6 separate regions of the Homo sapiens genome follow, and all the other regions are linked to region 3. The links are contacts of gene promoters, found by promoter capture Hi-C in blood cells and fetal thymus (Javierre and others, 2016). All regions are on one chromosome and are shown on one strand. Each heading gives the region's core, a stretch centred on a gene start or on the middle of the fragment in contact. The rest is flanking DNA. Distances are from core to core; before and after follow the strand shown. Region 1 holds the start of BTN2A1 (butyrophilin subfamily 2 member A1). Region 2 overlaps LOC285819 (a long non-coding RNA gene). Region 3 holds the start of H4C12 (H4 clustered histone 12). Region 4 holds the start of BTN3A2 (butyrophilin subfamily 3 member A2). Region 5 holds the start of TRS-AGA2-1 (tRNA-Ser (anticodon AGA) 2-1). Region 6 has its middle 2.6 kb from the start of TRT-AGT2-1.

The links. Contacts are between HindIII fragments. The CHiCAGO score rates a contact against its expected background, and 5 or more counts as called.
Region 1: the fragment with the promoter of BTN2A1 here is called in contact with the fragment with the promoter of H4C12 in region 3 in 4 of 17 cell types (neutrophils, naive B cells, monocytes and 1 more); the score reaches 6.7 in neutrophils.
Region 2: a fragment that was not itself captured here is called in contact with the fragment with the promoter of H4C12 in region 3 in 8 of 17 cell types (fetal thymus, activated CD4 T cells, total CD4 T cells and 5 more); the score reaches 8.6 in fetal thymus.
Region 4: a fragment that was not itself captured here is called in contact with the fragment with the promoter of H4C12 in region 3 in 2 of 17 cell types (fetal thymus and activated CD4 T cells); the score reaches 5.9 in fetal thymus.
Region 5: a contact is called between a fragment that was not itself captured here and the fragment with the promoter of H4C12 in region 3, in 6 of 17 cell types (monocytes, non-activated CD4 T cells, activated CD4 T cells and 3 more). The highest score is 9.5, in monocytes.
Region 6: a contact is called between a fragment that was not itself captured here and the fragment with the promoter of H4C12 in region 3, in 4 of 17 cell types (monocytes, M1 macrophages, naive CD8 T cells and 1 more). The highest score is 8.2, in monocytes.

Annotation. Positions count from the first base shown.
Region 1 is chr6:26,456,577-26,461,207 of GRCh38, reverse strand. BTN2A1 (butyrophilin subfamily 2 member A1) reads right to left here and starts at 3,253. Exons shown (of 8, transcript NM_007049.5): 1 at 3,066-3,253; 2 at 2,490-2,601; 3 at 1,380-1,727. The coding sequence starts at 2,571. RefSeq lists enhancers at 3,063-3,222, 3,383-3,642. The HindIII fragment of the contact is 11,033 bases long and covers 1-4,631 here.
Region 2 is chr6:26,473,407-26,478,269 of GRCh38, reverse strand. It overlaps LOC285819 (a long non-coding RNA gene), which reads left to right. Exons shown (of 4, transcript NR_038992.1): 2 at 1-435; 3 at 789-2,118. It also overlaps a transcript of BTN2A1 not described here and the pseudogene BTN1A1P1. Among named protein-coding and RNA genes, the nearest start is that of BTN2A1, 18 kb to the right of the region's middle. RefSeq lists a cis regulatory region at 1-128 and enhancers at 130-1,329, 4,386-4,435. The HindIII fragment of the contact is 1,320 bases long and covers 2,778-4,097 here.
Region 3 is chr6:27,828,227-27,833,053 of GRCh38, reverse strand. It overlaps H4C12 (H4 clustered histone 12), which reads left to right and starts at 1,494. Exons shown (of 1, transcript NM_003541.3): 1 at 1,494-1,880. The coding sequence starts at 1,527. The coding sequence ends at 1,838. RefSeq lists enhancers at 1,185-2,010, 1,934-2,043, 4,314-4,827. The HindIII fragment of the contact is 8,845 bases long and covers 1-4,827 here.
Region 4 is chr6:26,360,899-26,365,279 of GRCh38, reverse strand. BTN3A2 (butyrophilin subfamily 3 member A2) reads right to left here and starts at 82. Exons shown (of 11, transcript NM_007047.5): 1 at 1-82. RefSeq lists enhancers at 75-124, 4,205-4,254. The HindIII fragment of the contact is 1,103 bases long and covers 1,864-2,966 here.
Region 5 is chr6:26,325,603-26,330,377 of GRCh38, reverse strand. TRS-AGA2-1 (tRNA-Ser (anticodon AGA) 2-1) reads right to left here and starts at 2,789; the gene lies at 2,708-2,789. TRR-ACG1-1 (tRNA-Arg (anticodon ACG) 1-1) reads right to left here and starts at 2,238; the gene lies at 2,166-2,238. It overlaps LOC101928743 (a long non-coding RNA gene), which reads left to right. Exons shown (of 3, transcript XR_241992.5): 2 at 1,291-1,368. TRX-CAT1-4 (tRNA-iMet (anticodon CAT) 1-4) reads left to right here and starts at 6; the gene lies at 6-77. The HindIII fragment of the contact is 3,995 bases long and covers 846-4,775 here.
Region 6 is chr6:26,528,258-26,532,519 of GRCh38, reverse strand. No RefSeq gene overlaps it. Among named protein-coding and RNA genes, the nearest start is that of TRT-AGT2-1, 2.6 kb to the left of the region's middle. The HindIII fragment of the contact is 5,099 bases long and covers 1-3,939 here.

The DNA.
Region 1 (4,631 bases), core at 2,004-4,503, 1.4 Mb after region 3:
GCGCAGAAACCATAACTGGTCAACCCTGGAGTGCTGCTATGAACACAGTCATGATGCAGGGTCAAGAAACCCTCCTTCCATGATATTCTGCTTTAATCAGATGCAAGGTTGCCTTTGTGTGTAGCAAAGATGGGGTCTCCTACCTGTTATGATTTGAGGCCCCCAGGGAAAGACCCAATTCCCTAGTCCTCACCTCCTCTGTCTGGTCTGATGGAGTGAAATGCCACCACAGATTATCCTGCACCTTAAAGGCTTTTTCAGTCCTCAAATATATCTTTTTTGTTGTTGTTTAATTTTTGATACAGAGTCTTGCTCTGTCGCCCAGGCTGGAGTGATGTGGTAAGATCTCGGCTCCCTGCAACCTCTGCCTCCTGGGTTCAAGCAATTCTTGTGCCTCAGCCTCCCAAGAAGCTCAGATTACAGGCACACTCCACAAAGCCTGGCTAATGTTTCTGTATTTTTAGTAGAGATGGGGTTGCACCATGCTGGCCAGGCTGGTCTCGAACTCCTGGCCTCAAGTAATCCACCTGCCTCTGCCTCCCAAAGTGCTCGTATTACAGGTATGAGCCACCACGCCCAGCCCAAATATATCTTTTAAAGCATAATACACTAACCCCAAAACTGAAGTAATCACTTAATGTCATTTTAACAAATTCCTAGAAATCCCAGTTTAAATGCATTTTTATGTGGAAGGCTTCCCTATTACCTCCCAGCAAAATTCGTAGTCTTTCTCTATGGAGTTAGCAGGAACTATATATAATTTTGCTTCTGTATTTCGTCTTGGTTTAATAAAACCATCTATTTACAATAAGTCACTCTCTCTGCAATCAGCATTTTGGGAAAGATGAAGTAAAGATTAATATTTATCAAGAAATAAGATTTGATATGTTGTAGTTCTCTGGGTAATCAGTTTATTCCAGTTGTCTTGGAACAATTATTGACAGTGTCTCCTCTCACTCTCAGAAGTGCAACCTGGGAGGCAGAGGTTGCAGTGAGACAAGATCGTGCCAGCGAGGGTACAACAGAGCAAGACTCTGTCTCAAAAAGAAAAAAAAAACCCAAAAGAAGTGCACAGTTCAATCCTAAGGCAGGTATAAGACTTCTCTTCCGAGACTGACCATTTTCCCCTGCTCACGGCCTCAGCTGAATTCTGCATGTGCTTCTCAAGAAGTGAAGCCCTTAGCTTAGCAGGGCAAACCCACTCATGTGTCCCTTGTGCAGGAGGAAGGATTTTTCCCTGGAATTCCGTTTCCACAGGGAGAGTGGAAAAGGGAGTCCAGACAAAAATTTGCTGGTCTGCAATGGGCCTGAGGTTAGGAGAGAAACTTTCCCCAAAGTCACACTGTGCCAAAGTAACAAAGCAAAATGAAGCGACGCACCTGCCACTACGAGGTGCAGGATGGCCTCATCGTAGGACCTGCCTTCTTGGAAGTAACAGCGGTAGGTGCCGTTTTCCTGGGCTGTGATGTTGTGTATGACCAGGGCCACGCTGCCCCTGCTGATGTCTTTGCTCACAAAGGTGGTTCTTCCTCGGTACTCCTCCATCTGCTCCTCTGTTCTCTCTCTGCCACCTTTATACACAAACACTGCGGGGGAGAACTGAGACCGGAACCACCGCACCTCCATGTCCTCAGCATTTTTCTCGGGTGACAGATGGCAGCGTAACGTAGTGTTTTCTCCAACCGTGGCCAAGATGGGATCAGTGGGCCCCACGACAATAAACTGGGCTGTTCAACAAAGGGGTAGAGTCAGACAAAGACACCAGCCATCACATCTCTAAGGCAAGAAAGGAAGCAGATATTCTAGGGACAAACTTATTTTTTCCATGGCCATAGGGTCTCTTTGGGCTGAGAAATCTGGGGACCAGTAGCTGTGGCTAGTCGACAGCACCCCTGGGAGCAGTAACTATAAAGTGTGCTTCTGCTTCATGAAGGAAACCCTGAGGAACCTGCCCTGAGCACCCTCTGTCCACCCTGTGCCCTTGAGGGGATTTTCCTCGATTTCCCAATCTAGTGCTGTGCCTGAGTGTACTGTAAACTTGAGCCGTGCAATAGGACACATATCCACTAGCTAGTTCCAACTGAAATGAGCTGTAAGTGTAAAATACACACAGGATTATGAAGATTTAAAATTTCAAAATGTTGACTATCTCATTGGTAATATGGTATATTAACTAAGTATTTAAATATTCGTATTTGATTATTTGGGGCGAAACAAAATATAGTATACAAATTTATTTCATGTTTCTTTTTACTTTTTAAAATAAAAAGTAAAATTTAATTTTTTTTGAAAATTTGCAATTGTACATGCACTCGGCCTTTGTGCCTCACTGTATTCCTTTTGGACAGTGCTGGTATAAATTCAATGAACATGTTCAGAATGAAAGGGTAAGTCAACAACTCCACAGTCCTTCTTTCTTTCCCTTTGCAGACTACAGGGTTGATGTTCCTTTCTGATAGGTGACAGCAGCAAGTGGCACACATCCCTACCTGAGACCAGTGCACACAGGCTGAGGAGGAGGAGGAGGAGGGAGGCTGGCCGGGAGAAGTGCAGGGCAGCAGCTGATTCCATGAGCACCCAGAGCAGGCAGGGACAGGAGGCCTAGGGTTACAGAGGAGAATCAGCCTAGGAGTCTTGGCACCTCAGTGCTGGTCGGGCCCAACCTCTCCCGTCACTCAAGTAGGTCTCATCAGTGCCCCAACTTCAGGGAGTCCCCTGCATCCGAAGGCTCAGGTATGTCCCGAGAGAGGGATTCCTTAAACATTCCATGAAGTAAGCCATCAATGCCAAGATCAAGGGGGCCTTTTTCCGCCCTCCTCGGCTCACTTCTCTGGCCAGAATGCAGTTTCTTCAGTTGTCGCTGGATTCTACCACACCCTCCTCCCTTCACTTCCTCCTCCCCGCGACCCAGGCCGGGCAGCCTGAGGCAAAGACAGGCGAGGCCGCGCCTCCCCACCGGTGGGCTTTCCCTGTCCCAGGACCCCGTCTCGTGTCCACAGCAGACCCCGCTTCCCCCACCTACTGTGCCCACCCCGGAGCTGTAGCGCCTCCCCTCCGTTTCCTACCTTCTAGAATTAAACGTTGCTTTTTCTTTTCTCCGCTGGTTCTCGACGATTCTCCAGTCGTCCCTCTTCTCTCCAATCTGCCCAGGGGCACAGGCACTACTAGACACAAACCTTCCCAAAAGAGGAGAAAAAATTGTTCTTCCCCTTCTCCTAGGTCGCCATGTTTGGAGATGCAGGAAACGAAATCTGGTCTCCTGGGCTTCCACAGTCCCAAGAGTTCCCTAAGTATTTTAGAGCCCAGGATTGGCCGGGTGTGAGTGAACCAGCCAATGGTGTCGAACCTTATTTCTCAGCAGTTGCTGGGTAGAATACACCGAATCACAAATTTCAAGCAGCAAATAACCTTTTGAGATTATCGGGTCTTTTTATTTCCTTTTTCTTTGTTCGAAAGCAAGACTCTCTCTCTCTCTCTTTCTCTCTCAAGACTCTCTCTCTCTCTCTCGCTTTGAGATTCCTTGGGGAGATTCCCTGGGGTTTGTCACTGAGGTCGGTGGCTTTGCTGGTGTCCACAAGGAGAGGCCTCTCTATGTAGAGGGCAATTTTGCTGGGGAGGAAACATGAGCAGGAAAACGTAAGCCGCCCCCTTTCCAAAGCCAGAGGACTCCTGTTCAAGTTGCTGGCTTTGGAGGTTGGGCCTGGAGCGCAGGAGGGCTTGGGGGAAGCTGGCATGGCTGGAGCGGGAGGGGTAGCAAAGGAAAGGAGACAGCAGTTGCAGTGGCTGTTATGAAGGCCTTGCCATTCATTCCAAAGCTATCGGATAAGAGGTGCTGAGAATCCTGACTGAGGATCAAAAACCTTTTCCCTCAGGGAGGTGGCATTCTGGTGGTGGCAGAAGATGGAATTGAGCAAAACTTTCTAGTTGTCCTTCACCTTCTAGATAGTAGGTGGTCAGGTTGGGTCCAAGAGCCACACACAGACACACACACTAGCACACATACCATCCTCCCGTAAACATCATCCCTCTCCCAAAGGCTCCAATCTTGTAATTGTAAAGATATCTTCCAGAATAATCTTCCCGAGGCCCAGTTGTCAATATTCCCCTCAAGTGTCTAAATGCTTAGTCTGGAGGCCTCCAATTCCCTTCTGATTCAATTCAAAACTTTGCAGTTAATACGCTAGCAATGGCTCCACAGTGGCCTTGCATCACAACGTTGCACTCCCTGTGGCCAGTGCTCCTTTTCCCATGCCATGGCTTTCATTTCAATTGCTTGCTCCATCTCTGCCCCGTGAAATCCTGCCCAGCCTTCGTGCCTACTTCCTCCAAGAACAACTCTGAATGTTCCTGCCTGAAGTGTTCTCGGCCTCTTCTGACACCCAAATCTTTTGCTGTTCCCACGTCCTGTCTTGTATTATTGTTACTCAGGTATCCACTGTGTCTCTGCTGTGACAGGAGTACCTGCTTCTCAGGACAGACTTCTGCAGGATGTGATTCCTCTCACCTTACAGGGCCCAGCTCTAAGCTCTAAGCTCTGCTCTTAGCTGTTGTTCAATGCATGAGTGACATGCTCAGGGTAAGGTCATTCCCACCACATCATGGCCCAGTTCCTGGAGTCATTTGGCACCAGA
Region 2 (4,863 bases), core at 2,188-4,687, 1.4 Mb after region 3:
TGTTGTAGAAGGAGATGCCTCCTGCTTCATAGTCCAGGAAAATCTCAACCAGGGGGCTGGGATCTGACAAGAAGAGAAGGGTCTTGAGTGGGGAGAGGGCCCAGTACCCATTTACAGATGACTCCACAGCCCAGATCCCATTCTTAAGAGCAAGGAGAATTTTCTTCATCACATTCTTCCTACAGACTCCAACCAACCATTATTTCCCATCTCCCACCTCCACTTCCTGGTAATGTCTCTCCGAGGTGAAGGCTTCCAGGCCTAGCACACAGGGCCAGGAGTCACATCTCTCTGGTTTTTCAGGCAGTTTCTGACATGAATCTTCCAGTCAAACAGATTTGAATCCTAATAAAGAAAGAGGTGAGGGAGGGCTATGTTTGGGTCCAGAGTCACTTCAACTGGAGAGAAAGACAGAAACAAAAAGTCTGACCATTGGTGAGTGTTATGGTTACAGGACTATTTTTGCTTCTAAGAAACAGAGCACTGCTGTAGGAGTTGATAGGTCTCCTCAGGGGGAGGGCTGTTTGGCCTGCTAAGGGGTCTCCATTCCCCCAGGCTCCCTCTGTCACCAGCAGCCAGAGGGTGATGTTAAGAGTTGACTGTGCCCAGGCTTGTAATGCCTCGTGAGATAATCTCACAGGAAGCTGGACTCTTGGCCATCTTCCAAAGCCCCTCTCTGTGTTCCAAGGAAGTATTAGGCTTTCTTTCTTTTTTTTTTCCCCACAACTTAAAATCTCTGTGTTCATCACTAAAAGGGTATCAGCATTTTTCATTTCCACTTATTTTAGGTCTTTGGATACCTCAGAGGTTAAATCTCAGCACCCAGAGCAGTGCCCAGCCACTAACCTGCACAAGATCGAGCCAGTTTCCATTCTATAATAAAACAGAAACAAGAGTCATTGCCAGGTTAAAGAGAAAATCAGCTGGGTACGGTGGCTCACACCTGTAATCCCAGCACTTTGGGAGGCCAATGCAGGAAGATCACTTGAGCCAACTAAGGAGTTCGAGCGAGACTCCATCTCTACAAACAATTTAAAATAATAAAGAGACAGAGAGAGAAAGAAAAAAAAATCTTGTGTAATTTAAAGTAAAAGACAAAACTAAACTTCCTCCTTTGTATAGTGGTGTGAAGAAGAAGAAGAGGAAGAAGAAAAAGAGGAAGAAGAAGAAGGAGGAAAATAAAAAGACAAAACTAACATAAAAATTTCAGGAGCTTCTTTGTAAAATGAATAGAAATTCTTCAATAGGCCTCTGGGGCTGAGATGTGAGGAGGAGGAGGAAGAAAATGAGAGTGGGAAGGACGCACTGGAGGACTGTTACTATCTGAATCCTATCGCCTACAAAACATCAACTGATCAATCAGGCACAAGAAAGTGTTCTGCTTCTTTCTGTCACCTTAGAAATAACCTGGACGTCAAACATCGGTGAAAAGAAGAGAAAAAAAGGAAAATGAAATAACCTGGAAGCTCCTGATGATTTGAGATCAGATCTTTACATACTAAGAGATGGTTGCTATATCTGGGGGCCTTGAGTGAAAGGCAGCAGTGGGAGCCCAGCACCCATTTCCAGACAACTCCACAGCCCAGAGCCCAAACTCAGCAGTTATGAGTTGAATTTATTTTGTCAAACAAAAAGAGTCAAACTCTGTAAAATATTGCAAGAGATTTATTCTCAGCCAGATATGAGTGCCCAGTGGCTTGTGACACAGCCCCGAGATCCTGTGAACATGTGCCGAAGTGGTTGGGCTCCAGCTTCTTTTTATACTTTATATTTATTGAGATGTTTTAACTCTGCAGGCCAGAGAGAGAGACCTATCTGAAACCAGCTTGGGCAGCTGGAGAAGAATGAGGGTGAGCAGACATCTGGGCAAGCCGGAGTTTGGGAAAACTGCCATCTTCGACCTTTCTGGAGCAGCAAGATACTGGTGTGAGTCTGTCAGGAGCTTCAGCCTAGCTGATGAATAGACAGGAGAGAGCGATGGGCTCTACAGACCCGCTCAGCAGTTCTTTCCAACTTGGAGTGCTCTGGTCATTTGCATCTGAATCCTGCTGTGTCTTCTCTCCAGTGGAGATTTTCAAACCAGGCTGCCATCAGCACCCACTCACCACCCTAAGTTTGGTAAATGATATATAAAGCTTCAAACTGGCCCTACAACTCAAAAGGAGACATAGGAGAAGGGAGGCGTTCATGGGTTGCATATAAATGAGCACAGTTTGAAATCACTACACTAAAAAAAAATCTTTCAACTATAATAATATGTTATTTACTTTCAGCAATGAGTCAGTCAGGAATTTAGCCCAGGAAATCAACAGAAAAATAGACTCCTCCCTCCCCTGAGATGCTGCCTGCACTGGATTCATGTAAATTTAAATATAAATTTAGATTGATGTTCTTTCACCATCCTCCCCCATTATCCTTCTCTCACTTCAATCATAAATGCTCTTCTGTTTGCATCATAAATTTTTCCCCTCAATCCAGTACATTTTTCTTTTTTCCTTGTATTTATTTTATTTTATTTTAATTTTTTAGAGATGAAGTCTCACTATGTTTCCCAGTCTGATCTTGAACTTTTGGGCTCAAGTGATCCTCCCAACTCAGCCTCTCAAAGTGCTGAAATTACAGGCGTGAGCCACTATGCCCTGCTGATCCTGTACATTTTTTGAGTTCATTGTACCAATAGTTCCTCCATTAGCTTGGTTAAACATTCACAAAACAAAACAAAATGCCCCCAAATGTGACAGCTGAGTCCTTGTAGGAAAAAATCCTTAAGTGAAGCTTAGTATCCTGGGGTTCATTGCATATTCATATATACATACTTGGGGACCCATGCACTAAAAAGACAGACTCCTTTTGTTTACAATAATTCAGCCTTTGCTGTTAAGGTGATTAAGGCAAGTAGGTGTGGGTGGAGAGATAGTGACAAAGGAAGTGAACTAGAGGAATAAAGATCAAAAGATGGGAGGAGGTCACTAGGTCACAGTTAAGCAAGGGCAAGCAGGCAGGAACCAGCCCTGTTGCACTGGTGTACTTGGTCACCTGGGCAGGGTGTTGACGGGCTGTTGTGGGGATGTTGGGGACATCTAGAAAATATGGAGTTGAAAATTTACAATATACATATGAATCTTTAAGGCACATCTCTTTTTAGAACCTTTTGGAATATGTTCCTAAACATAACCAGGAGATATTTTAGGAGTCTTTTCGTCTCCTGGCTGGGGGCAGTGGCTCATGCCTGTAATCACAGCACTTTGGGAGGCCAAGGTGGGTGGATCACTTGAGGTCAGGAGTTCAGTACCAGCCTGGCCGGCCAGCCTGGCCAACATGGTGAAACCCCGTCTCTATTAAAAATACAAAAAATTTGCCAGGTGTGGTGGCGTATGCCTGTATTCCCAGCTACTCCGGAGGCTGAGGCCAGAGAATTGCTTGGCTGGGAAGGTGGATGCTGCAGTGAGCCGAGATTGTGTCACTGCACTCCAGCCTGGGCAACAGTGAGACTCTGACAAAAAAAAAAAAAAGGAGTCTTTGCTCCTTTCTGACTGTAATTAGTTCCTAAGAACATGCAGTTGGAAGGTTTCTCTATTCAGGTTGTCCCTCTTCAGCCAAATCTCAGCCTCTTCAGGTCCTTACTCTTTGCATTCTACCCTCTCCATCCTCACCCCTTTCTCTGTGCCAGTTCCCCTCTCAGCTTTTCAGTCCCTTTTCTTCCAGGCCTTGTAGCCCTGGCTCTAAGCAATTTTCCCCACTTACTCCTTAATATTCCTATCTGAAAATCATAGCCCACAAAAAAAGGTAATCAATAGTTTTCTGTTGTTAATAAAAACTTTAGACAAATTAAATTTAGCAGGGTTTAATTTGAACAAAGAACAATTTGCAAACCATCAGAACGATCGGGCAGCCATCAGAGAGGTTCAGTGAGCTCCATTCCACAAGGGAAGTGACACACAGAAACAGCTTAATTGGTTACAGCTCAGAGTTGGCCTTATTTGAACATAGTCTGATCACTTGGCTGCAGGGTTGACTGCCGCCGACTGAAGTTCGGCTACTGGGATTGGCTGAGACTCAGCTATTTGTTACAAAAGTATACTCCCATGCCTTAAGCTTTCAGTTAGTTTACATACTAAGTTAGGTTGCAGTTCATTATTTAAGGGCTCAAGAGCCATCCCTCAGGCTAAATGTATACATATCTCATACCAAATTTAGTTTAATTTAACACAATTATTTCTGCTTTAGTTAAGATTCTCTGATCCAGAATAAAGGAAAAGAAAGCATGTGCTGTACACTCGGTCCGAGAAACACTAAGAGAATCCTCTTTGTAGGAATTCGTGTTTTGATTGGCTCAGAGGTACCATTTCTCATCAGTTGCTGGGCAGAAGCCACTGGGGACGGTTAGAATGAAAACTGAAACGATATTGAATTGTACACATTGACGAAAAGTTTCAGCCCTACCTCTCAAAGTGTTTGCAGCTCTCTGTGTTTACATATTTGAATCATTAATGTGTGTGTTACGTGTACAATCAGTGTTTCTTCACATTCAGCTGTCTTTTATATCATAACAGAAATATCAGGAGAACTGAGTGGAAAAATGAAAAGATTTTAAGAAGAGAAGATAGGTATTAATTAAAATGATACTGTGGCAGTTTGCAGACATCCCCTTGCATGTAATTGTTACATGGAGGATATTATCATCTTTTGTTTTGGATATTATCATCTTTTACCACAGAGCCAAATGAAAGTATGAACATAATGAAAACTAGATCTATTGCATCTATTTTAGTACCTCCAAAATTCAGGTCTCAGATCCATTACCGAATTATAGAATTTTCTGGTATCCAGAGTTAGTGCTGTCTATAACTGCATATTTTATAT
Region 3 (4,827 bases), core at 245-2,744:
CAAAAAAATTAGCCGGGCGTGGTGGTGAGTGCCTGTAATCCCAGCTACTCAGGGGAGGCTGAGGTGGGAGAATCGCTTGAACCCGGGAGGTGGAGGTTGCAGTGAGCCAAGATTGGGCCATTGCACTCCAGCCTGAGCGAAAGGGCGAGACTCCGTCTCCACAAAAAAAAAAAAAAAAAAAAAAATTCAGAGTATAACCCTGTATTTATTAATAAGAAAGAAAATCAAATATACGGAATCAAAGTTGCTCCATAATGGTTGATAACAAATCTTTAGTTGGGTCATATAAAAGTGTCTTTTTAAAAACCTACAAGCGTCCAAGCGAAGCGGCTCACGCCTGTAATCCCAGCACTTTGGGAGGCTGAGGCGGGCGGATCACGATGTCAAGAGATCAAGAGCATCCTGTCCAACATGGTGAAACTTGTTCTTTACTAAAAATACAAAAAATTAGCTGGGCGTGGTGGCGCATGCCTGTAGTCCGCGCTAATCCGGAGGTTGAGGCATGAGAATCGCTTGAACCCGGGAGGTGGAGGTTGCAGTGAGCCGAGATTGCACCACTGCCCTCCGGCCTGACGACAGAGCGAGACTCCTTCCAAAAAAAAAAAAAAACCCCACACACAAAACCTACAAACACCAATTTTCTAGTTATAAGAGCTTGTTTTAAGGATTTTAATTCTATTCCAATTAAGTCCTAAAGCTAATGCAATTATCAAAATCTCGAAGAGATTTTATTCAAACTTCACAAAAGGTCTCTAAAGTTGTCCAGAAACCTTGGTGAAACAGATTAGGAAATTTGGAAAGGAAATAATGCGGAGACCCGTAGTACCAAATCATGAGACCTCTAATACAATTTTAAATATTAATGTAATAAAATTTAAATTTTGGTGTAATAAAATCATAAATTTCAATATTGGTCCCAAGTATAGAGAAAAAGTACATTTATGTTGAATGTGGAAAACATTATTTTTAAAATACAGCCGATTAAAAAATTGCTGGGGAACTGATTATAACTATTGATAATTCCTAAGAAACATAGACACCAAAACATCACTTTTATCTCTTTAATAGAAATTGGTTAAATTATAATCAATATAAGGAGGTTACAAAACTCCATATACAACACTGTATACATTTTCTTGGAAAAATATGTGCAACTGCTCTGCAAAATACATGATTAACTAGCCTGTGTGATGGGATAACATTGTAGTTTCTTAATTTCTTGTCCTTTCTTGTATTTCCCACAGTATTGATGTATATCTTCTGCGTTCAAAAGCAATTTTTTAAAGCCTCATAACGTGGTAACAAAATACTATGCACGTTACAAAATTCAGAACACGGAAACAAGAAGCTCGCTTTTTTTTTCCCCCTATTTCGGTTTGGCCCTTTAGATTTCCCCTCCCCCACCGGGGCGGGACTTCCCGCCGACTTCTTTCAGGTTCTCAGTTCGGTCCGCCAACTGTCGTATAAAGGCGCTGCCTCAGGCCAGAGTCCTCACAAAGCGTTGGGTGAGACTCCTCTTGCTCGTCATGTCTGGCCGCGGCAAAGGCGGGAAGGGTCTTGGCAAAGGCGGCGCTAAGCGCCACCGTAAAGTACTGCGCGACAATATCCAGGGCATCACCAAGCCGGCCATCCGGCGCCTTGCTCGCCGCGGCGGCGTGAAGCGCATCTCCGGCCTCATCTACGAGGAGACTCGCGGGGTGCTGAAGGTGTTCCTGGAGAACGTGATCCGGGACGCCGTGACCTATACAGAGCACGCCAAGCGCAAGACGGTCACCGCCATGGATGTGGTCTACGCGCTCAAGCGCCAGGGCCGCACCCTCTACGGTTTCGGTGGTTGAGCGTCCCTTTCTATCAACAAAAGGCCCTTTTTAGGGCCCCCACTTTCTCAGCTGAGGAGCCGTGATGCTTGTTTGCCCAGTTTCTCTTTACCATTTGTTCGCGCCTGCTGAGTTTGTGCTGCTATCGGAGCATGCGTCTCTAGTCGCTGTAAGTAGGCATCAGTCACTAATCGCTCTCCAGTAAATAAAATACCCAACACAACTTGTTTCAGGTGCTCCAGAGCTTACTGACATGGGCCGTCGCGCAGACTGTAGTGCAGTGTCATCATGGCTCACTGTAGCCTCCCGATTAGCCGGAACCTCGCGCCCACCACCACGCAAGGCTAATTATTTTTCCAAAGACCGGGTCTCCGTGTGTTTCCCAGGCTAGTTTCGATATCCTGGCCTCAATCCCCTCGCCTATGCCTAATGTTGGTATTACAGTAGTGAGCCACCACGCCTGGCCACGATACTGTTGAGGTTTTAGGGTTAGTTACATTTAAGGGGCAATTTTCGCAGTGTAGTGGGGAGGAAAGTCAAGCAGTTATAGGTTTCTGGCGCTGTGAATCCAACTGCTGAACATAGCAAGAACTTATTATGCAACAACCTTTAATCAGTGGACCGTAAATAAGTTTAGTTTATCGGTTTTGGCCCAATTCTTGAGAAAGGTGAGAATTTGAATCCTTGAGTAGAAATACGTAGCTTATCAGTACAACAAAGTGATCACAACAAAGACTAACTTATCCTTTGTTACTTAACGTGGGCAGAGCTTTACCGCTGAGAATTCCTCAGCCTTTGAGTGTTCTCTTATTTACAACTGAAGTTGATAAGATGGTATTAAAAGTGAGATTCCTAGTAAGTAAACTTAAAGGCCTGAAGGACCAGTGATTAATGGGAAGTGCTAATAAGTCATATTTGAGGTTATCCAACCCGAGATTCTGATTTAATTGGTTTAAGGATACTATCACCTTGTGGGTTAGATTTGAAAAATAATAATTGCTTTAAGGAAGGAACCTGTTGGTATTTAAACAAAAAACTTTCCTTCCTGATTCTTACATGCCGTCACTTAGACAAATCTCTGGTCTACATGGCTGGATCTCTTTCTGCTAGTTAAATTCTGTGCTACCCTGTGAAAAAGAACTGAGATTAATAAAACGGTAGTGAGAACACAGGGAAAGATAAAAATCATAGCAAGCCCATCCAGTCATGCTGTAGTCATCCTCACAAGGATAGGGAAGGATCTTGTCCTTCATTTATCACCCAAAGTGTGAGTACAAACTTTAAAAACATATGATACTATAGGAATAATGAAGATGTCTCCATTTGCAAAAATTGTGTGAAAAAATGCACTTGACACAGGTATTTCCTATGATTTCATAATAGACAAAGGTTTAATTACACAACTCCTGGCTGAATCTAGAGTACTAAAATGTGGCTGTTAGAAAAGGTTGCTCTCTGGGCCCGATGCAGTAGCTCATGCCTGTAATCCCAGCACTTTGGGAGGCCAAGGCTGGCAGACAGCTTTAGGCCAGGAGTTGGAGACCATTCTGGCCTATGTGTTGAAACCCCGTCTCTACTAGGAATACAAAAAATTAGCCGGGCGTGGTGGCACACACCTGTAATCCCAGTTACTTGAGAGGCTGAGGCTGAGAATCGCTTAAACCTGGGACACAGAGGTTCCAGTAAGCCGAGATCACACCTCTGCCCTCCAGCCTGGGTGACAGAGTGTCGCCAAACAAAACAAAACAAAACAAAAAAAAAGATTGCTCTTACCCAGGGATGATGGTCAGATGCAATTACAGGTTATGAATTTGGCATAAAAGTAATGCTAAGTGTTTCACACTGCACTTACTGTTGTCAGTGTTCTAAGTGTTTTTTATTTACCAATTCATTTACACTTGTTTGTCTTTTTTTTCAGGTCTCCAACTCCTGGGCTCAAGCTGTCCTCCCACTTCTGCCTCCCCAAAAGCTGAGATTACAGGCGTGAGCCACCCGGCCCTACTCATTTAATCCTTACAACAACCCTTAGAGCTGGGAACTATTTTTATCATCATCACATAATTGTTTACAAAAATAAATCGAGGCTTAGAGAGCATATGCACCTCAACCCAAGATCCCACAAGTAGAATATTATTGTTACAGATTTGGTTGCAAATAATCTGCTTCTTATGATTGTGCTTTAAATTTTTCACCGTGTCACATCACTTTGGTGGTGTAAAATTATAAAACAACATTTAAGTCTTAACTTTAAAAATGTGTTTTTGGCCTGGTGCGATGGCTCATGCCCATAATCCTAGCACTTGGGGAGGATGAGGCAGTCAGATTGCTTAAGGCCAGGACTTTGAGACCAGCCTGGACAACATGGTGAGGCAATTTCTCTACTAAAAATACTCAAAAATTAGCTGGGCCTGGTGGCCTGCGTATATAATCTCAGCTACTTGGGAGGCTGAGGCACGAAAACCCAGGAGGCAGAGGTTGCAGTGAGCCGAGATCCTGCCACTGCTCTCCAGCCTGGGTGACAGACTAAGGCTCTGTCTCAAAAAAAAAATATATATATATATATACATATATATATATATTTATATGTATAGACATACATAGTTAAAATATATATATTATTTTTTACATCTTAAAGAGAAACATTATTTATATGCAAAAAATTTTATTTAGGCCCACTTAGCAATTCCAGATCTGACAACTTTTGAGGATTTAAAATTGTTTTTCGCCCTCTCCCTCTCCCTCTCCCCATGGTCTCCCTCTCCCTCTCTTTCCACGGTCTCCCTCTCATGCCGAGCCAAAGCTGGACTATACTGCTGCCATCTCGGCTCACTGCAACCTCCCTGCCTGATTCTCCTGCCTCAGCCTGCGGAGTGCCTGCAATTGCAGGCGCGCGCCGCCACGCCTGACTGGTTTTCGTATTTTTTTGGTGGAGACGGGGTTTCGCTGTGTTGGCCGGGCTGGTCTCCAGCTCCTAACCGCGAGTGATCCGCCAGCCTCGGCCTCCCGAGGT
Region 4 (4,381 bases), core at 1,166-3,665, 1.5 Mb after region 3:
ATTATGGCTTAGCCTCTCATCCGGAAGAAAGGAAAAAGAGAAAGCAAATATTGTCTTCTCACCATGAGAAACAGTAAGAGTCGCTCTTTGGAAGAATTAGTTTTTTGATTGGCTCAGAGGTGATGTTTCTCATCAGTTGCTGGGCAGAAACCACTGAGGAACGTTGAAATGAAAACTGAAAGTACATTGAATTGTACACGTTGAGGAAAAACTCCAGCCCTACCTCCCTTAGTGTTTGTGTTTCTGTGTTTATCTATTTGAATCATTCTTGTGCGTGGATGTATATAAGTATTTCTTTATATTCACCTGTCTCGTGTCTTTTACATGGTAATAGAAATATTAGCAGAATGGAGTAGGAAAGTAAAAAAATTTAATGTGCAAAGAGAGGAAGATGTGCACTAATTAAGATGCTTCTGTGGCAGTTTGCTTGCATGTAGATAGGTACGTAGAAGAGGAGGATCTTTTTTACAGAGCCTAATAAAGGTATGAATGGAAAGAAAATGAGACAAACTGCACCTCTTTAAGAACTTCTGGCATTTAGGCTTAGGATATGGTATCAAATAATATAATTTTTCTGATTTCCAGAGGCAGTGCTGCTTGACATTGTTTTACCTTTCCCAGGAAATTCTTACTGCAGATCTTTCTGAGCATCTTCATTCACCCTCAGCTCCTGGTTTGTGCTATATTGTATTTTCTTGGGTATTTGTTTCTCACGCTGCCAGTGGAGTACATATTCTCTGAAGCTAGACACTCCATAGGCTGTGGTCTCTGTAAGGCTCGTTTCCTGTACACCATCTCTGTAAGGAGTTTATGGGACAATCTTGTTCTCCCTGTGGCTTACGACCTCAAAACACACTTTTTTGGGCTGCAAGCCAGAAATCTCCTAGAGCTAATATGTGACTGGAGCTGATGGGATTTGATTATATTGCAACAGTTTGAATTTAGGCTGTGTGGTATCTGCTTGAGATGGCTGGTTGCTTCTGCAGCGTGCATGCCCCCTTCTTCTTAGTGACAAGGCCTAATTTTCTGGGGTACTGCATCCTGCTCTTCCCCCTTGAAGATAGGGCAGGCCAAGGGACTAAGTTGGAGCCAGCGGTTTGTAGGTGAAAGTTGTGGGCTTGTACTTCTCCCAGAAATCCTTCAAAGGGAGGCCAAAATAGCTGGGAGTGTGAGGGTACACTCTCCCTTCTTCCTTCTTCCTCTTGCCTAGAACATGGACTTTGGACCCGGAGGTGCAGTAGCCCACCCTGGGACCATGAGGCAGCCTTGAGGTTGGAAGCCACACACTGGGACAGCAGAGAATGAAGTCAGAAGCAGGCTGGGGCATGAATGACATATCTGAGGTGCCAGATCAGCCCTGGACTGTCACCATCTAAATTTATTTAAAAAATTTTTTCTTTTAAAATATTTTATTATATATTAGTACTCAGGGTAAATTTCCAAATAAGTTTGTTTTTCATGAAAGGAAAACAAATCCTTGTTTTATTTAAGCCAGTGGTACTTCTGGTCTCTGTTATCAACAGAAAAACACAATTTTTCCCTCCCCCTTCCCCCTCCCCAACAGTTTATTATAAAACTTCTAAAACATATAGCAAAGGTGAAAGAATTTCAGTAAATTCCAATATATCTACCATGTAGATTGTATAATTAATATTTTAGTTTCTTACTTTATTATAAATCCATCCTGCTGTTCACCCCTATTCATCCATCAATATTTGTTTATTTGTTCATTTGTTTATTTTTAAATTCAGACTCTATCAGAAGCTGTGCTGCTTGAGATCGTATTAGTAAGAATGAACATCCCACCTTTGCCTGGAGGGTCCAAGTCACTTTGACACAAAGAAGCAGCCAATGTGCTAAGCTTCAGATTAGGAGTTTCTGAGCCCAACTCTTCATATCTCTGAACTTTGTAGTTTCCAAACTATGAGACCCCTAAGTTCATTTCTCACTCAATGTCTTTGTTTCTTCAGCTATGGGTAGGGATGTGACCTGCTTCTTAAGTTGTTTGGGGAGAACCTAGCACAGCACCTGCACATATTAACTCTTTATGAATGTCATTATTTTCCATTATGAAAGGTTCGGTATCAGCTGGTGCCTGTTGTGGAGTTGGAGTTTTAGTTTGAAGGTGAAGAGAAAATCTTTTTTAAAAATGGCATGAGAAAATGTGTACATTGGAAACAATAGTGTGAAAGGTGCCAGGGAAGATGGGAAGTAAGAGTGCCATTTACATTGTATTCTGTGGAATGATGACGCTATGATTACACAATATAGCCAGTCCTCATTAGAGAATCAGATGGTAGAAGACAAGGAGACCAGGAAGAAAGCTACTGTGACACTCCAGGCAAGAAATGATGAGGCCTTAGGGATGGAGGAGAGGGAAGAGGATTGATTATTATTCTTAATAATAGCTTATACTCACATAGAACCTACCGTGATGTTGGTATTGTGCTTAGAGGTTTACATGCATGAATAATACTTTTGCTTTGTGAAGTTCTGAGCAGAGAAGCCCACTAAGCTCTGCCTGGACTTCTGACCCACAGAAACTGAAGTGATAAAAGTGTACTGTTATTTATTTATTTATTTTTGAGGCAGAGTCTCGCTGTGTTGCCCAGGCTGGAGTGCAGTGGCACAATCTTGGCTCACTGCAACCTCCACTTCCTGGGTTCTAGCAATTCTTGTGCCTCAGCCTACCAAGTAGCGGGGATTATAGGTGTGTGCCACCACGCTGGGCTAATTTTTTATCTTTTATTTTTTGCGTTTTCAGTAGAGATGGGGTTTCATCATGTTGCCCAGGCTGGAAAAGTGTACTGTTTTAAACCACTAAGTTTGTGGTAATTTGTTATGCAGCAATAAATCACGAATGCATTAGGTAAGTGAAACACACAGTGGCAACAAACATGAATATAAAGAAGACAAAGAGAATAACTTGTGTTTCCAGCCCTGACCCGTTGCCTGGACTGCAAGCTTATTATTGACCTGCCTACTCTACATCTCCACGGGAATCTCTAGTAAGCTCCTCAAACCCAACATATTCAAAACTGACCTTTGGATTCTGTGCTGGCTCCTCCTCTGGCCTCCACAAGCGGTTTCTCCCTCATTTTCCCCATCTCAGTAAGTGGCAACTCCATCTGTACCGTTTCTTAGGACCAAAACCTTGTGGTCACCCTTGATGCCCTCCTTTTTCACACCCCACCTGTAAGTTTATCAGCAAAGCCTTTTTATTCTATCTTGAAAATAAATCCAGCATCATAACATTTTCATGGCTCCTCCCTGGTACAAGTCATCTGCATCTTTCCCCTGGATCACTGCAGTAGCTCCCAGCTGGGTCTTCAGGCCTCCATCCACCACCCCTACCCACAGCCCATCTTGGTCTAGCATGTGAAGTAACTTCTTAAAACATAAGTCAGTCCAGTCCTTTTTCTGCTCTAACCTTCCAGTGGCTCCCCTCTCAGAGGTAAAGCCCAGGTCAGCATGATGACTTTCAAGGCCATACATGATCTGGCCCTCAACCCCCTCTGGCCTTGTCACCTCCTCTTCTCCTGATCACCCTGTGTGCTCTGCGCACCCCAGCCTCATTGCTTTTCTTCACACAAACCACAGTGCTTCTGCCTCTGTGCTCTGGCACTGCTGTTCTCTCAACTCGGAATGCTTTTCTCCCAAGTATTCTGTGCCTCGCTCCCCTTGCTCATAACCACCCTATTTTAAACTGTAACTTCCAACCGGGAACGAGGGCTTACAGGTGTAATCACAGGACCTTGAAAGATCGAGGGAGGAGAATTGCATGAGGCCAGGAGTTCAAGAACCTGGGCAGTATGCATAGCAAGATCTCTGTCTTTCAAAAAAAAAAAAAATTAGGCTGCAGTGAGCTATGATCACTCCAATGTACTCTAGCCTGAACAACAGAGCAAGACCCCTTCAAAAAGAAATGCAAGTTCTGCTATTCCAGGTTTATTTCTCTCCTGAGCACTTATCATCATCCAGCACACCATATATATTACTAATTATTTCATTTCCTGTCTGCCTCCTACCACAAGTTATGTTGTTTTTGAATGAGAACTTTCTGTTTTGTTCACTTCTGTGACTCCACCACCTAGAATAGTGACTGGCACATAGTTAGCGTTCATGGATCCTTGTCAAATGAATGAATTAATGAATTGACCAAATAGAGAAGCCTGAGGGAAGCTGGGGTGGGGGCTCCCCGATGTGGGTGCAGAATTAGCCTGAGACAGGAGAAAGAACACCTGCTTGTTGAAATCAGAGGAAACAGATCATGAGGGACAGGTATAGGTGGTGGAGCAGGAAGTTTGGGACCTCCCTTTTCTATTTTCTCTCTGAGGTGGTAGACTGTGGCACCATCTGAGATGTGGGGAAAGGATGTGGT
Region 5 (4,775 bases), core at 1,594-4,093, 1.5 Mb after region 3:
CGCGTAGCAGAGTGGCGCAGCGGAAGCGTGCTGGGCCCATAACCCAGAGGTCGATGGATCGAAACCATCCTCTGCTAGGGAGCGTTTTGTGGATTTGTTTTTCCCCCTTCCAAAAATAGATCTACCTCATAGGAGGAGGAAATTGGTATAATTGTCATGGACACCGTAAGGGAACTTATTTTGATTTGCACCTCTCTCAGAGATCTATATCTCTGGTTGCAATACATTACTATCCTAATTAGATTAAAAATAACAAAAGCAGTAGTTTTAGCTTTGATTGTTTGAACAGTTAATAGATACCATGCACTATTCCAAGTTCTGAATCATTTATTCCTCGCAATTCTACGAAGTAAATACTTGCTATTACTCTTACTTTACAAATGAGACAAATTGGGGTTTGTCTGCAAGTTGGGGTTTGCAGAGGTTAACTAACTTGCCCAAAGTCATGCAGCTAGTAAATGGTAGAGCAAAGATAAAACTCTAAACCGCCGTTCTGCATAATTACAAACACTAATATTTACAGCAAACTTCAAAAGTTATTTCAGCTATTCCTTCCGAGTTTTATTAGTAGGACATGAACTCACCTAGTATTATTAAATCCCTAGTAAAATGAGAGGTACCATATGTGACATATAGTAACATGTCCAGATTTGAGCAGGCTGTAGGTGACACTTTTTTTCCTGTTCTTATTTTTCTGTTTACTCAAACTAATACAGATGCATAAGGAGACATGTTTAAAGTAGGATGAAATCTACAGACTGTGCAAAGCTTTTGAACTTTTGGAGAAATGTTTAGACAACTGACGAAATGCTTGGGGTTGAATTAATGAAAAGTGTCTAGAAGCTTAAGCAGTAAAACAACAAGAAAAGACAGTTATGTACTAATGCCGGGGAAAAATAAAAATTGCAAGGAAAGGAAAACTTAACAATGTATTTCTTTGCCCACTTGTTGAATTATGTTTATAAAGTTGTCATATTTTAAGCTACAAATATTAAAGTATCATGTATTGTGCTATAACCATATGAGAAGACTTAGAAAGGGAGCATGTGTGTGTCGGGGGTCCTGGGGTGTGAAGAAGAAAGTGAACCAGTTACTCCTCTTATATAAAGTCAACAGAAGGTCCATACAAACATATTATTTAGAGATATGTAGGTAAATAATTTTAAAATAAGCTATTTAAATGTTTAAAAAGTAGGCTTAACCACTCAGCCACGACTATAGGTGCCAAAAGTTTTCTTAAACGTCGTACATGTTATTATATGTCACATATTGTACCTCTCGCTTTACCAGGAATTTAATAGCTGAGTTCACGTCCTGCCAACAAAACTTAGAAGGAATCAACAAACTTCAAGTTCAGGCGCATATGTGGTAAGCTGAGAATGTTCTTTGGGTGTTTTCTATAATGCAAATCAGGAATATGTTTCAATAACTTTAAAAATTGCTAGAGGACAGGGAGCAGAGAAGAGACTTGATTTTTGTTTCAAGTGATTCTTGAAATTATGAGTATGCGAAAAGGATAGAAAAGAAACCAAAATTGTTTGCTATCTAGAAATTTTCTGTTTGTGAATTCTCAATCGTAACTCTCACAGAATGACACAAGGTTTTCCCAAACGGACGTGGTGGCTCACGCCTGTAATCTAGCACTTTGGGAGGGCGAGGCGGGCTGATCACTTGAGATCAGGAGTTCCAGACCAGCCTGGCCAACATGGCGAAACCTCCTCTCTATTAAAAATACAAAAATAATTAGCTGGGTGTCGTGGCACATGCCTGTAATCCCAGCTACTCTGGAGGCTGAGGCTAGGAGAATCGCTTGAACTCAGGAAGCAGAGGTTGCGGTGAGCTGAGATCGCGCCACTGCTCTGCAGCCTGGGCGACACAGTGATACATCTCAAAAAAAGAAAAAAAAATTCCCCTGTATTAAGTTTTATCAAGCAATGTGAAAATTGGTCAGTTCTGAAACTTATCAATTTAGTGATGTGATTTAAAAAAAAAAAACTCTTATGTATGTAAAACAATAGTGAACTGAAGCTGGAGTCTATATTATAAAAATTTTTGTCATCTTGTGTAATTCTTTTAAAAATTAAAATGATAAAATACATAAAATGTATATGAGTGCCCAGGGAAGGGGCATTTATGTAAACCTCAAAGTTTCCACTAAAGTCGAACGAGCCAGCCAGGAGTCGAACCTGGAATCTTCTGATCCGTAGTCAGACGCGTTATCCATTGCGCCACTGGCCCTCTGACGAACGAAGACAGGCGTTATACCTATAGAAAAAAACGTTTTGGGATTACCGCGTCCTCCTATACATGAATATATGAAATTTTATTTCTTTCTGATCATAAGGATTTTGAACCCAAAACCCTCCAATTAAAACAAAATATAGTTTTATTTGTTCCTTTGACTTGTTTTACTCATGAAGTATGATTCCTTCGTGGGTAATGAGAAATCCATCCTTGTGCACAATGATTCCTTCCTGAACAATGAAATATCCATTATGATGTAACTTGTAAAAGATCAGAGATAAGGTTTACTTTGGGCAATGAGAAATCCATTTTGAGGACCTCTGAGACATAAATTGAAATTGTCCTGCCCTGAATCCCCAAGAAATCCATTTTGATGTTAACTTGTAAAAGATCGAAAGCCTTTTTACACGTGAAATATCGATCGGTCGGATGAAACCTGCTTGAAGATGCAAAAACCCACTGCCGTAGTCGGCAGGATTCGAACCTGCGCGGGGAGACCCCAATGGATTTCTAGTCCATCGCCTTAACCACTCGGCCACGACTACAGATACCAAAAACCTTATTAAATGTCTTACATGTTTCCATACATCACATATTGTACTCCTTTTATTAGGGATTTAATAATAGCTGAATTCGTATCTTAAGAATAAAACTTGGAAGCAATCAACAAACTTCAAATTCAGGCACATACATGATACGCTAAGAATGTTCTTTGGGTCTTTTTTATAATGCAAATCAGGAATATGTTTCAACAACTTTTACAATTCTCATATTTTTGCCTAGTAAGAAAATTATCCTCAGGCCGGGCGCGGTGGCTCACGCCTGTAATCCCAGCACTTTGGAAGGCCAAGGCGGGTAGATCATGAGGTCAGGAGTTTGAAACTGCCCAACATGGCGAAACCCCGTCTGTACTAAAAATACAAAAAAATTAGCCAAGGTGGTGGTGCACGCCTGTAATCTCAGCTACTCGGGAGACTGAGGCAGGAGAATCGCTTGAACCCAGGAGGCGGAGTTTACAGTGAGCCGAGATCGCGCCATTGCACTCCAGCCAGGGCGACAGAGCAAGACTCCGTCTCGGGGGTAAAAAAAAAATAAAAAATAGATTAAAAAAATAAAAAGAAAGAAAATTATCCTCAGTAAATAACACTGATGTTCCACAGAGATCCCCTATATTTTCTGACAAAGTCCAGTGCCTGCGATATACTAACGGCTCAACAAATGTCAGTACAATTGTAACTATCATTGTAAAACCCCAGAATCTAGATTCATCAAAAGGTTCTTCAGTGAAGATAGGCTTCTGTCTTTTCATAAAACTCAGAATATTTTAACCAGCTGAAAGAACATTTCTGAAAGAAACTAGAAAGTAAAAAATATTTTTGCTGGTCAAATCCTCTTTCGTTTATGGGGCCTTCTCTCACAAGGGGAAGAACAACTGCATCTGATATTCTGTGAATAGTTTGAAATTATATTCAAAGACCACTTCCAAAGGAAGAGCAGAACCCCAGGTTCTAAAACTGCACTACCATTACCACAATACTATGCGTGTGTGTGTGTGTGAGTATTAGTGAGCAAGTCAGGGATTCTGTATTTCATCAATGGCCCAACTCTATGAACAGAAGAAGGGTAAGGAATGATTGATGAACTACTGCTCATGTGCGGATGGATTGAAAATCGTCTCTACTCCAGATCTCTCTCCTCTGGGCTCCAGAATATACAGTTGTCCTATTTTTTTTTCTTGCATGTCCATGGGCATCTCAAAAGCAATGCAACCCCAAAGGAATGTTCCATCATTTTCCTCAAACTTAAATTTCCTCCAACAATCCAAATTTTTGATGAGATACCAAAACCGAAGACTGGCTACCAAGACCGAAGACTACCCTTGTCCTTTTATGTCTCTCTGATTCCCTTCCCAGCAGGCCCTCAATTCAACCTTCTAATTAGCTCTCAAATCTGGCTCTTCTTCCCCAGCCCTCAGACCACCTTTTTTTTTTGTTTTTTTTTGACGGAGCCTCGCTCTGTCATCCAGGCTGGAGTGCAGTGGCACGATCTTGGCTCACTGCAACCTCCGCCTCCCGGGTTCAAGCAATTCTCTTGCCTCAGCCTCCCTAGTAGCTGGGATTACAGGTGCGCGTGCCACCATGCCCAGCTACTCAGACCACTTTTTAAAATGAGGTACTTAGTTTAGGTACTTAGAAGTACTCATGAGAAACTTCTCATTAAGTTATTGCAACAACTTCTTAGTCTTTTGGCCTCCAGTTCCTGATCCCTTAAATAATATATTCATTTATTCATTCTTCCAAAAATTTTATTTTTTTAGAATAAAAATAAGCACTTTGTATATGGGTAGTGAGACAGAGAATTGCCTATTTTTTTCAAATTCTTTTTATGTGAAATAGCAAAAGCCAAGCACTTTGCTAGGTACTGCTCATTCAATGGAGAGCGAGATTTCTAAAGGATTACAGAAGTTAACAATAAAACAACTGAGTGCAAGTGAGAAGTGCAGCCCTAACACAGTAAGTAGCCCACAGAAA
Region 6 (4,262 bases), core at 141-2,640, 1.3 Mb after region 3:
GTTGTTGAGAAGGCTGTAGCATCTCTGAAAATTCACAGCAAACAGTAAGATCTGGCCACATAAAACAAGCTGTGATTCGCTATTTAAAAAGATTGCATTGTACTCAGAGTTTTTTGGAAAGGAACAAATCAAAGCAAAAACAAATATTTGTCACCAAGACTTGAGAAAAGAAGCTGTCAGAGAAGCCTCCATTTGCTTATGGGGCCCACTAGAACAGGCTGACTTGAAGAAGTCCAGGAAGGGTTGAGATGCCTTCTCCCAAACTCTCCAAGAGGAAGAAAGAGAAATTGAGAAGTAGGAAAGAAGTCAGTTTTACTCTTAGCAGAAGTTCTCCACATAGAAACACAAGACCAAGGAAATGGAAGTTCACTGTAACTATTACCAACCCTCTCACCCATCTCCCAAGACCCAGCCCACAGCTCACCTGGCACAGAAAGTTCCACTTCTCTGGCTTTTGCTTTCAGAGCATATTATTTTATGTAGATTGTCAAGGCTTGCAATATGATTTCCTGTTCTAGCTCTGGAGACAAAATCCCAACACTTGGAGGAACAGCTCAGAAGCAACTCTACTTTTATGGAGACTTTCTACTCCCATTCCGCAGCTTAATTCCCCACTTTTCTTTTTTGTTGTTGTTTTTTTTTTTTTTTTTGAGACGGAGCCTCGCTCTGTCACCCAGACTGGAGTGCAGTGGTGTGATCTTGGCTCACTGCAACCTCTGCTTCCAGGGTTCAAGCAATTCTCCTGCCTCAGCCTCCCGAGTAGTTGGGATTACAGGCGCCCACTATTATGCCCGGCTAATTTTTGTATTTTTAGTAGAGACGGGGTTTCACCATGCTGGTCAGGCTAGTCTTGAACTCCTGACCTCAGGTGATCTGCCCACCTCGGCCTCCCAAAGTGCTGGGATTACAGGTGTGAACCACCGCCCCCGGCCAATTCCCCACTTTTCTTTATAAACATCAAGCACCAATGGAAAGGCAGACCCTTCTTTTTTTTCACTAGAGCCTTCTATCTTCTGTTCTTTTTCCCTAGGCCCAGATACAAACTTCCCTCAAATGATAAGACAGGCTGGGTCACTGGTGCAGATGTCAACACTAAATCACTAATTCATCCCCTTACCAATCCTGCCTCATTTCCACTCTCCTGCTCCATCAGCTCCAGAAATACCTTTATAGGAGGCTTGTGGCCAAGTGGCCCTCAACAGATTGCATGGTCTGTACACTGAGTTGGCAGTAGTGGTACTGGCTACTGAAGCTATTGAATATTCCAGGTGATGAGTCTCACTATCTTTCCCAAAAGCCTATGTCTTCCTAGTTCTCCATATATGGATACATCATGGAAACAATTTATGTGTAAAAGTGGAAATGGTTTGCAATCAGATGCTTGTTTGTCTAGTGAGTGGCTATTTGTCAATGGCCAATTACTATGTGGCAGTTACCATGCTAATCACACATGGGTGAAGAGGCTGATGGGAAGGGAGAACAATTTAATGGCAGTTATAGTATAGTGGGATGTAATACTATTGGGAGTACAGGGTGCTTTGAGCCACACTTGCCTATTTATTTATTTATTTATTTAGAGATGGAGTCTCGCTCTGTTGCCCAGGCCGGAGTGCAATGGCGCAATCTTGGCTCACTGCTACCTCTGCCTCCTGGGTTCAACGATTCTCCTGCCTCAGCCTCCCGAGTAGCTGGGACTACGGGCACCCACCACCACGCCCGGCTACTTTTTGTATTTTTAGTAGAGACGGGCTTCACCATGTTGGCCAGGCTTGTCTCGAATTCCTGACCTCAAGTGATCCACCTGCCTCGGCCTCCCGAAGTGCTGGGATTACAGGTGTGAGCCACCACGCTCGGCCCCACATTTGCTTATTTATTTATTTTTTTTAGGGACAGAGTCTGGCTCAGTTGCCCAGGCTGGGGTGCAATAGCACAATCCTAACTCACTGCAGTCTTGAACTCCTGGGCTCAAGCAATCCTGCTGCTTCAGCCTCCTTGAGTAGCTAGGCCTACCAGTGTGTGCCACTATGGGTCTGCCACCACGTCCAGGTGATTTTTGTTTTGTTTGTAGAGATAGGGTTTCATAATATTGTCCAGGCTGTTCTCCAACTCCTGGGCTCCAGACATACTCTGGCCTAGGTCTTCCAAAGTGTTGGGATTACAGGCATGGGTCACTGCGCTGGCCTGCAGCCTCATTTGAAAACAAACCTGTCTGTGTGGGGCTGGGTGCAGTGGGGATCACCTCTGTAATCTCAGCACTTTGGGATGCTAAGGTAGGAGGATCACTTGAAGCCAGGAGCTGAAGACCAGCTTGGGCAACATAGTCCATAGTGAGACCACATCTCTACATAAAATAAATTAGCCTGGCATAATGGTGTGTACCTGTAGCCGTAGCTACTCGGGAGGCTGAGGCGGAAGGATCTCTTGAGCTCAGGAGGTTGAGGCTGAAAAAAACAAAACAAAACAGAAAAACAGACAAACAAAAACCCTGATTGGGCGAAGGTGGAAGGAAGACTTTATGGAAGAAGTGATACCCACACTGAGCCATGAGGGAGACACAGAACTTGTCAAGGAAAGAGGATAGACGTGGGAGGAGTAGAATAGATGCCCTGGGCAAAGGGAACAGTGTGTAACTAAAGGTGAGGAAGAGAATGCTCAGTTCAGATAAGTGGAAAGCAGTTAGGTGAGGGTATGTGCAAGTCTTAAAACTGTTTTTTGTCTGGAGATAGGCGGAGAACATTTGACTTGGCAGTTGATAAGTGTCAGGTGTTTCATGCTTTCTTTTAAAAAGACAATGCCTTACCAAAGCAGTTTGGATAGCATTTGAATTTACAAGTTGTGGATTAAGTAGGGCCTCTAGCTCAGCTGCTGAGGTTCTCCTATGGGCAGGTGGAGCTAGAAGGGACTGTGTTTCCCATTGCATTCTAAGTAGCGATGCTCATCTACTTGCTTCATATCTGTCTGAGCTAGCCTGTTTACTTCTCAAGGCAAGGGCTGTGCCTGTCCTCTTCACTGCTGTATCTCCAGAGACCAGCACAGGGCCTGGCCAACAGCAGTGTGATGATTAATATTATGTGTCAATTAGAGTGGTTCATTAGATACTCAGATTACACATTGTTTCTGGCTGGGCTTGGTGGCTCATGCCCGTACTCCCAGCACTTTGGGAGGCCGAGGTAGGAGGATCGCTTGAGCCCAGGAGTTTGAGACCAGCCTGGCCAACATAGTGAGGCCCTCATGTCGCTACAAAAAAAAAAAAATTAAAAATTAGCCAGGTGTGGTGGTACGCACCTGTAGTCCCAGCTACTCATGAGACTGAGGTGGGAGGAATGCTTGAGCCCAGAAGATCGAGGCTGCAGCGAGCCCTGGTTGTGCCACTGCACTCTAGCCTAGGTGACAGAGCGAGACCTTATCTCAGGGTGCTTCTGGATGAGATTATCATCTGAATCAGGGACTCAGTAAAGCAAATTGCCCTCCCGGGTATGATCCCTCCCATTTGTTAAGGGCCTTAATAGAACAAAGGTTGAGGAAGGAGGAATTCACCTCTTCTCCCCCTACCCCACTGATTTACATCTCATTTTTTTTCCTCTTGCTCTTGGACTGGGATTTACTTCGTTGACTCCCGGGGCTTTCAGGCCTGATTGAGACCCAAACTGAATTACACTACCTGTTTTTCTGGGGCTCCAGCTAGCAGATGGCAGATTGTGGGACTTCTCAGCCTCCTCCATAATTGTGTGAACCAATTCCTTATCATAAATTACTGTCTCTCTCTCCATAGACAGGCATAGATAGATAGATACATACACACATACATACATAGTTAATAGATAGATAGACTATTAGTTCGGTATTTCTGAAGGACCCTAATACAAGCAGGTACTCAACTATGAAAAAAAAAATACAATGTATCAGGCATTTGTTGTTTGCCAGACACTCTTCTAAGCTTTTTACATATTCCAAGTCATGTAATCCTTACTGCATAGTTATGAGGAAAGGTACAGTTATTTCCTCCATTTTAAAGAGAAGGGCACTGAGGCACAAGGATGCAAAGTCACTTTCCTGGAAGGTAAGTAGCTGGCAAGTGGCAACGTCCAGAGATGGGCCTAGGCAGCCTGAATTGAATTCGACTAATCTGCTGGCCTTCCAAGCACCTTTAAGTGTTTTTTCTGCTACCCTAGGGGGTACACCTATTTGCCATTTCCTCCTTTCTCTTATGTTGCCACCTCTGAAGGAGGGATTCAAAGCCACGTTTGATCAGAATGTCAGGG